Regions from separate parts of the Homo sapiens genome. Here all the other regions are linked to region 2. Evidence: promoter capture Hi-C in 16 types of primary human blood cells and fetal thymus (Javierre and others, 2016). All regions are on one chromosome and are shown on one strand. Each heading gives the region's core, a stretch centred on a gene start or on the middle of the fragment in contact. The rest is flanking DNA. Distances are from core to core; before and after follow the strand shown. Region 1 has its middle 150 kb from the start of SPMIP3. Region 2 holds the start of AKT3 (AKT serine/threonine kinase 3). Region 3 overlaps LOC105373262 (a long non-coding RNA gene).

The links. The method cuts DNA at HindIII sites, captures the fragments that hold promoters and counts their contacts. A CHiCAGO score of 5 or more calls a contact.
Region 1: a contact is called between a fragment that was not itself captured here and the fragment with the promoter of AKT3 in region 2, in 1 of 17 cell types (total B cells). The highest score is 5.8, in total B cells.
Region 3: a contact is called between a fragment that was not itself captured here and the fragment with the promoter of AKT3 in region 2, in 6 of 17 cell types (fetal thymus, non-activated CD4 T cells, naive B cells and 3 more). The highest score is 6.6, in fetal thymus.

Annotation. Positions count from the first base shown.
Region 1 is chr1:244,205,039-244,207,738 of GRCh38, forward strand. No RefSeq gene overlaps it. Among named protein-coding and RNA genes, the nearest start is that of SPMIP3, 150 kb to the right of the region's middle. The HindIII fragment of the contact is 1,599 bases long and covers 554-2,152 here.
Region 2 is chr1:243,848,793-243,851,492 of GRCh38, forward strand. AKT3 (AKT serine/threonine kinase 3) reads right to left here and starts at 1,451. Exons shown (of 14, transcript NM_005465.7): 1 at 1,248-1,451. RefSeq lists an enhancer at 360-860. The HindIII fragment of the contact is 10,171 bases long and covers 1-2,700 here.
Region 3 is chr1:244,296,716-244,299,471 of GRCh38, forward strand. The region is part of intron 1 of LOC105373262 (a long non-coding RNA gene); the gene reads right to left. Among named protein-coding and RNA genes, the nearest start is that of SPMIP3, 55 kb to the right of the region's middle. The HindIII fragment of the contact is 1,560 bases long and covers 637-2,196 here.

The DNA.
Region 1 (2,700 bases), core at 103-2,602, 360 kb after region 2:
CTGCACATGAGTGCTGGGGCTTGGATATTTGGCTACAACAAACATTTGGGAAAAGCATCAGCCACAGCAGCCATGGAAGGAAAGTATTGCGTGTCTGTGCGGAATGATGGTGAGGTGAGGTAACTCAGCAAATGCTGTAAGATGGGTTTGGATTGGGAAGGCCAAAGACTTCTACAGCCAGGTCAGATCCTGAAGGGTTAATTCAGGGTTTCACATTGTCCTTAAATTTGGTGCTGCTGCTACTGCTGCTCTTTTGGAGGCCACAGAGAAGGTAGACAAGGGTCTGGTGTGGCCTCCAGTAGTCTCCAGCACACTGGCTTGGAATGCAGGCTTTGGGTTCCAAGTATGGACGTCTCCATAACTAACCATCTGGTCAGTGTTCATCACGCTAGTGTGGGATGCAGACAGAGAACATACTTAGAGGCAGAATCGATAATCTGGCAAAGAGAAAGAAGTTCACAGCTTTACAAATGAGCTCCTTAGCATTAATTAATTTATTCATTAATTCAACAATAATTTAGTAAGGGTGTATTATGTGACAAGCAATGAGAAAAGCTTGGTTGGAAGATGGAGGTTATAAAGATATATAAAGCTATACTCCTTCCCATCTGTTTATGAAATCTATACTGGGTAAGCCGTGCAGACATCTAATTAGAATACAACGTTAATAAATACTATTTTTGTAGGTGTGTACAGAGCATTACAGAACTGTCGAGGAATATGCAGTTGTCTGAGGAATTCCATTACGGCTTCACAGAGGAAACAGCATTAAGGCTAAGTCTTTTTTGTTTGCTTTTTGTTTTAATTTAGTGAGAGCAAGTTTATTAAGAAAGTACAAGAATAGAGAATGGCTACTCCATAGGCAGAGCAGCCAAGGCTAAGTCTTGAAGGGTGACGGGGAATTTTTAAAAGAATAGGAAAAGAAGAATGTGACAGTCTTTAGAATCAGACAGACCTACATCCTAGCGCTAGGTCTACCTAATTGTATAATCTTGTGTTCACTATTTAGCCTTGGCGGGGGGAGGGGCTCTGTTTCTCCATCTGGAAAATGGAAATAATAATGCCTACCTTGCAGAATTGTTACAAGAATTAGATATAACCTATATTCAATGTTTGGCAAAGGAAAGGGCACAAAATCAGTGATGATTTTATTAAATTTACCAGCTGGGGCTATGAGGAAGGGCATGCAAGATAGAAGACACACTGTGTGTAAAACAGAGACTTGTGGAAAGAAATGGTGCATGTAGGCAACAGAAAGTAGACTGTAGACATTGAGAGGAGTAAATAATAGGAGATGAGGCTGGACAGATGGACTGGGGTCAGTTACAATGAGTCAGCACCATCTTTGGTGAAGACAGGCCAGTATCTTTCAGCTTTACCCAAAATTGCCATGCCCAAGGGCCCTTTGCCAGTCTGCTTTCACAGGTGGTTTCAGCTCACTCTTCTTCCTTCTTCCTCCTCTCCACCCACTCCACCCCTCTCCATCCATCAAACTCCGAGAGTCACCACACCATCTTCAGGAAGCTCCTATCTTCAGCTCAGCCATATGACACCCCTCCTGATTGTTTAGCAGCCACGTCTATTTAGAGATCCATTGAAAGTCATTTCTATCATTTCTCCTGCAGGTGCATTTTGTGCTAAGAATACCCAACAACAAAAATCCAAGCACACAAAGAAACGTCAGAGAGATCTTGACACACCAAGGATCCTCTAGTCTTTAACTTCAGTCTCTTAGGAATTAATTGAAATGATGACAGCACCAACCTCACAGGATTAAATGAGATAGTTATGTGAAGCACAGAATAAGCATTCAAACATATTAGACGCTGTTTGTACCATTATGATAATTAGCTTCATAAAATAATTTTACTCAATACTTCTGAGTGCTTACTAGGTGCAAGGTATCAAAGAATTCCTTCATAGACACATAATTTACCTAGACTTTTCAGGCAGATAAACTCTGCATAGAAGAAAGCACAAACATATGGGAGCAATGCAATTTAATCAGCACCTAATTAGCCAAACTATTTAAAATAGACCTCACTATTTTGATGATGAAAACATTCTCACTTCTAAATGCCGGAAGCTGTGTCTTCCCGTAATTCTCTCCCTTGGAAAACTGTGAGCAGAGGGACTCTTGGCTCATTGCTGAAGCTTCCTCTCCATTACATTTAGACCTCATCGGTTCTAGTCATTTCCTTTCTTTGTCATTAGATGAGGCGAGGGCCACTTCTGCCATCTCTCCTCAATCCACCATGTTTCCCTGGTGGTGACTGCTCTGTGTGTGGATGGGTGTGCCTGAGGTCATAATTATAAAAGCTAATATTCATCATGAAGACTTACTCCATGGCAGAGACTGTTTAAGCATTTCATGTTCAATCTTCTTAACAACCCTATGAAATTCATACCACCAGTATCTCCATTTACTGGAAGAAACAAAAGTTCTCAGCGGTTAAGTAACCTGCCGAATGTTCCCAGCTGGTAGGGAATACAGCCAAGACCCACATGCAGGCAGTCTGCTTCTAGCTTCCCTAAGAGTTAGCAAATCCAAGAGTGGAAACCTTGGAGATATAATAGAGTCAGTTGCTGTGAATTAAGCCAATTCTTACATTTTGTCTCCCAGTTAACCCAAAGCTTCTCTTACAGAGTCTAAAACAACCCTACTTTCAGATAGCCCAACAGTAAAATTATGGACCCCTA
Region 2 (2,700 bases), core at 201-2,700:
TAGATGCATAGGTTTCACTGTTGACTTTCTATTTGGAAACTTCATCAATTGCAAACTACCAGGCTTTCAACCAAAATGCCACATTGGTGAAATGAGTTGGTTTTATTTTCATAACAACATTATTTTGATGGAAGAAATGTGAGCATCCCAGCTTTGACTTGTGGGTAAGCATTTCCTCTGCTTTCAGAACATAAACAGTAAATACCGGTATTGGAAAAACCTGGCCCCAACGAGATTCTTTATCTCTAGGCTAACTGTAGATTCCCGGGAAATCCCAAACAAGGGATGGTGACCCCGCCTCGGCGTCAGGGTCAACACAGCAACCAGCTAGGCTTCAACTTTGGGCTCTGAAGGGCCCCACCGGCATCATGGCTGATGCGGACCGATGCGCCGGAGGAGGTGGACAAGGAAGAGGCTGGTCTGTTTACTTGCAGCCAGAGCTGCCGCCGCCGCCAGCAGCGACAGCATCACTGGATCAGCCAAACCCAGCATCTTCCGCACATTTCTATTCTTAGCACACAACTCCCAAGCGGATCAAAACCCCACTACTATTAAAAACACAGACAAGCACGTTACCCACCTCCCACACACACACCCCCCCCCCCACCCCACCAGTGCCGTCTTTTCCTGCGCGCCAGTGGCGGGGAAGGGTGGGGGAAGGAAGGAGACCCCGGGGACGCCTGTGCATCCTCGCCTTCACCCCACCCCACGCGCAGACAGCCTCAGCGCCAGGGCGCGCGGCAGACGGCTCCCTCCCCCCAACCCAAACACACTGACACCGGCGCTCCACGCGTTATATAACCTCGCCGCCGCCCCCGGTCCAGGCGGGCGCCCCCTCCCCACGCCGCGCGGCCCGGGCGGGGAGGGGCGAGGGGAAGGAGCGAGAGTTGCGCAGACAGCAGGCGCCGGGCCGGGGCAGCCCAGACACAGACGGTACCGCTAGGCCGGGAACACCCCTCCCCCGGCCCGCTGCGCACCGCCGCCCCCCAGCTTTCCCCGGAAAGCGGGGGGTGTCGGTGTCAACCGCGCTGGGCATCCCCCGGCCTCCACACCCACACCCGAAGCCTCCGGTGACCCAGCCCCCGCCCACGCCCCCGGCGCGGTGACAACCCAGAAGCCCCCGCCTCACCCCACCCCGCCGCCATCCCCCGCCTGAGGGAGGCAGGGAGGGCGGACCGGGGCCCGGGGCCCGGAGGGAGTGGAGGCCAGGCGGGGAGGGGGCTAGAGTTGGGGGCGGTGGCTGTTACCTGCAACGGCGGCGGCGGCGGTGGCGGCCCCGCAGCTGCTCGGGCGGCGGCGGAGGATGGAGCCGGGGGGGGGCGGGGGGAGGAGAGGGGGCGACTCGGGGGTCCCCCCTCCCTCCTCCTCCCCTCCTGTCCTCCCCCCACCCCACAGAGCCTCTGGCCTCCTGGAGCCCGGTGCGGCCGGCGGGAGGGCAAGCGAAGGGCTGCAGGGGAGGGAGGGAGGGAGCCGGCCGGGCCGGGCCGCGGAGCTGGAGCGGGAGGCGGCGGCGGCGGCGGCGGCGGCGGGAGGGGGAGGGAGGAGAGAGGGCGGCGGCGGGGAGAGGAGGAGGCGGAGACTCTACATGGGAATCGGATATCGGCTACAAATTCATCACCAGAAAACACCGCTCGGGCGGGGGCCGGGTCACGCCGGCGGGGCGGCGGCTCTGGGCCCCGGGGCGCGCCCGGCGCGGGGAGGGGTTCTGCGGCCTCCTCCCGGGCTGCGCCTCGCTGAGGGGACCCCCCGCCGCCTCCCCGCCCCCTCCTTCCTCCCGCTCGGGGCCGCCGCCGATCGGTTCTCGCCGTCGCCGCGGGGCTTGTTGTTGACTTTGAGGAAAACTCCTGACGTCAGGGGCTGGCTCTCGGCGACTGGCGGGAGCGGCTTCCCCGCGTCCCCGGCCCTGCCCGCCGCCTCTGCTCCCCTCCCTGCCCGGCCCTCGTCCTCAGGCTTCCCCGCGCCCCCAAACCAGCGGTGCCCCGCGCCCCCTCTCCTCTCGCGAGAACATCCCCCTAGCCAGCCAGAGCCGGGAGCGGGGGCAGTCGCTCCCGGGCGGGAAGTTCTGGGTTTCCCCCTCGCCCGCGTGGCCCTTGGCGGGCACCCGAGGCCCGGGAGCGGAGGCTCCTCGCCCAGCCGCTTCCTCGGCGCATCCGCCCACCCGCCCTGGCCGCGGACGCGCGCGCCGCCAGGCCCCGGGCGTCTCCTCCAGTCCGCCGCGGCCCCTTGGGGAGATGGGCCCGGCGCGAGGGCTCGCACCTGGAAGCCCACGAAGTGGGCGGTGCCCAATGAGGTAGGGACCGGAGAGCGCGGAGCAGTCCAGAAGCCGACCCCACCCCCTGCACCTCGGGGAAGAGGGAACCCGGGTCAGCCCGTAGCAAGAATCATTCCTGACTATCCCAGGAGACCACGGCAGACCAAAAACACCTCTCTGAACAGCCTTCCGCACCGCTCGCTGCAAGCATTCGTCCACACACGGTACACAGATTGCGGGCGGATCGTAATTCACTCTTGAAATCACACCCTTTTTAGGGATATTCGTTTTCAATGACTTTGGGAAAGCCACGAGGTACTACATTTACTACGAAGAGACCGTTTCTTTATTTTGAAGTCAGTGACTCCTGAGACTGCATTGGGGACAACTTTTTTGCACAATGACCATATTTTACCATGCAGCGCACTTCAGAAAATTATAAAAGTTTA
Region 3 (2,756 bases), core at 167-2,666, 450 kb after region 2:
AGAAAAGAAATAAAAAGCAAACAGGAAACTCTGAGGACTGGGAGCAGGAAGGGGAAGATAGTATATGTAGGCCCAAAGACTGGAATCTTGGCTCAAACACTGCAATGTCACTCTCAGAAGTGGATGGAGGCCGTGCACGGTGGCTCATGCTTGTAATCTCAGCACTTTGGGAGGCCAAGGTGGGTGGATCACTTGAGGTCAGGAGTTCGAGACCAGCCTGGCTAACGTGATGAAACCCTGCCTCTACCAAAATAATAATAATAATAATGATAATAATAATACAAAAGTTAGCCGGGTGCAGTGGCATGTTTCTGTGATCCCAGCTCTTCAGGATGCTAAGGCATGAGAATCGCTTGAACCCAGGAGGTGGAGGTTGCAGTGAGCTGAGATTGCACCACTGTACTCCATCCTGGGTGACAGAGTGAGACTGCCTCAAAAAAAATTAATTAATTAATTAATTTTAAAAAAGAGAGAGAGAGAAAGAAGAAAAGAAATGGATGGAAAATTAAGTGTTCACTTGAAAAAATAAAAATAAAAAAAGTGATAGAAGATACGGCTGCAAAAGCAGCAATGAACTGGCTGAAAGACTGAAGCTCTGTCCTTAGATTGAAAAGTGAGGCGATTCCAATATTCAAAAGCTTGGTACTTTTGTGCCTGACTGAGTTGTAGCCCTCGTCCAAGAGATTGTCCAGGAATGGAGAAAAATAGCTTTATTTGAAGGCAGTGGTAGAAAGAGAATAATAACAAAGTTGTTTTTTAATCCTAAAAGAGCAAGTGTCCAGGAGAGGCCAATTTATAAGGAGGTTCTGGAGTAATGTCAGTAATAAAACCTCCCGGGAAGATGAAATACATGCCACTCTGGCTCTCCAGCTAGTAGGTGCTGATGGGCCCCCAGCAGCCACCAAAATTCTATTTCATTGACTCTTATCCCAACATCCTTGATAGAGGAGATCTAACTTTGCAAAATCCTCTCCAAGTGTTTCGGGGATCTTGGGTTTTGTCGTTTAAGCTCATAAAGAGTTCTCTCACGTTCCTTGGCCCTGGGCCCCTCTGTTGTTTTTTGCTTGTGAAGCCATTTGAGGGCTGCTGTGTGCCACCGTCACAGCTGTGTGGCAAGCCTAGAGTCATGCTGTTATAACCACCCGATGGGTGCTTCCTGCCCACTACACAAACAAAATCCATTCACAGAGACCACAGCATTGCAGATCACAAGGTCAGGAGATCGAGACCATCTTGGCCAACATGGTGAAACCAAGTCTCTACTAAAATACAAAAATTAGCCAGGTGTGGTGGTGCGCACCTGTAGTTCCAGCTGCTCGGGAGGCTGAGATAGAGTAATTGTTTGGAAGTGGAGGTTGCAGTGAGCTGAGATCGCCCCACTGCACTCCAGCCTGGTGACACAGCAACACTCCGTCTCAAAAAAATAAAAAGAGTTTAATTGACTCGAGGTCAGTCATGCCACATGGGAGATGGAGTTATCACTCAAATCGACCTCACTGAAGGCTCAGAGGTTAGGAGTTTTTGAAGGGTAGTTTGGGAGAAGGGATGGAGGTGTCTGGGCAATGGGTGCTTGCTGCTGATTGGCTGGGGGTGCAATCATAGGGGTGTGGGAAATGGTCCTCCTGTGCCTGAGTCCTTTGTGGGTGGGGCCACAGGAGGGGTCAGTGGGTCTAGGTGGAGGCATGAGTGTCAGACATCAAAAAAAAAGACTGAAAAGATATCCCAAAGGCCAATCTTAGGCTCTATAACGGTGATATTATCTGCAGGAGTAATCTGGGAGGTTGCAAATCTTATGACCTGCAGAATAATGGTTGGCAATCATTTATGTCTACACCTTAGCAGAATTCAGGCTCCTCTACCCTGCTAGCCTGGTGGTCTCTCATTACTTTTACAAAAGCAGCTGACTTTGGGGAAAGGGCTATTATCATTTAACTCTCAAAGTTAGCTTGGCCTACACCCAGAAATATTAACAATTAATGGCAACTTGAAGGCTAAAGGCAAGATGAGGGTTGGCTAGATCAGATCTCCCTCACTGCCATAGTTCTCTCACTGACCTAATTTTTGCAAAGCGGTTTCACTGTGTTTCTTGTAAAGGTAGAGGAGAAAGCCCCTCTCCTCCCTCCCTCCCTCTGTGTCACATTTTATTACTTGTGTTAGTGAGCACTAAAAAATGTAAGTCCTGGGTCTTGTGTGAAAAGCTTGCAGTTTTAGGCTGGGCGTGGTGGCTCACACCTGTAATCCCAGAACTTTGGGAGGCCGAGGCGGGTGGATCACCTGAGGTCAGGAGTTCGAGACCAGCCTGACCAACATGGTGAAACCCTGTCTCTGCTAAAAATACAAAATTAGCCGGGCATGGTGGCGGGCGCCTATAATCCCAGCTACTCGGGAGGCTGAGGCAGGAGAATTGTTTGAAGCCGGGAGGCGGAGGTTGCATTGAGGTGAGCTCGCACCACTGCACTCCAGCCTGGGCAACAAGAGCGAGACTCCAAAAAAGGAGACAGAGAGAGAGAGAGAGAGAGAAACGAAAAGCTTGCAGTTTCGACATGCCCTGCTTCTCTGCAGAGACACAAGTCCATGACACTGGTGTCGTGGTTCCTTTTCACTCTCATTGTTTTGGTTGTTTCAGTTCTTTCCCCCCATTTCTCAAACAATCTCCTCCCTCTACTGCAACCAAAAAGCCCCATGCCTCTTCTCCCACCACCCTGCAGACTCAGACAAGACTGCATCTCAGCTTGCTCTCAGGCTGAGAGCACTGA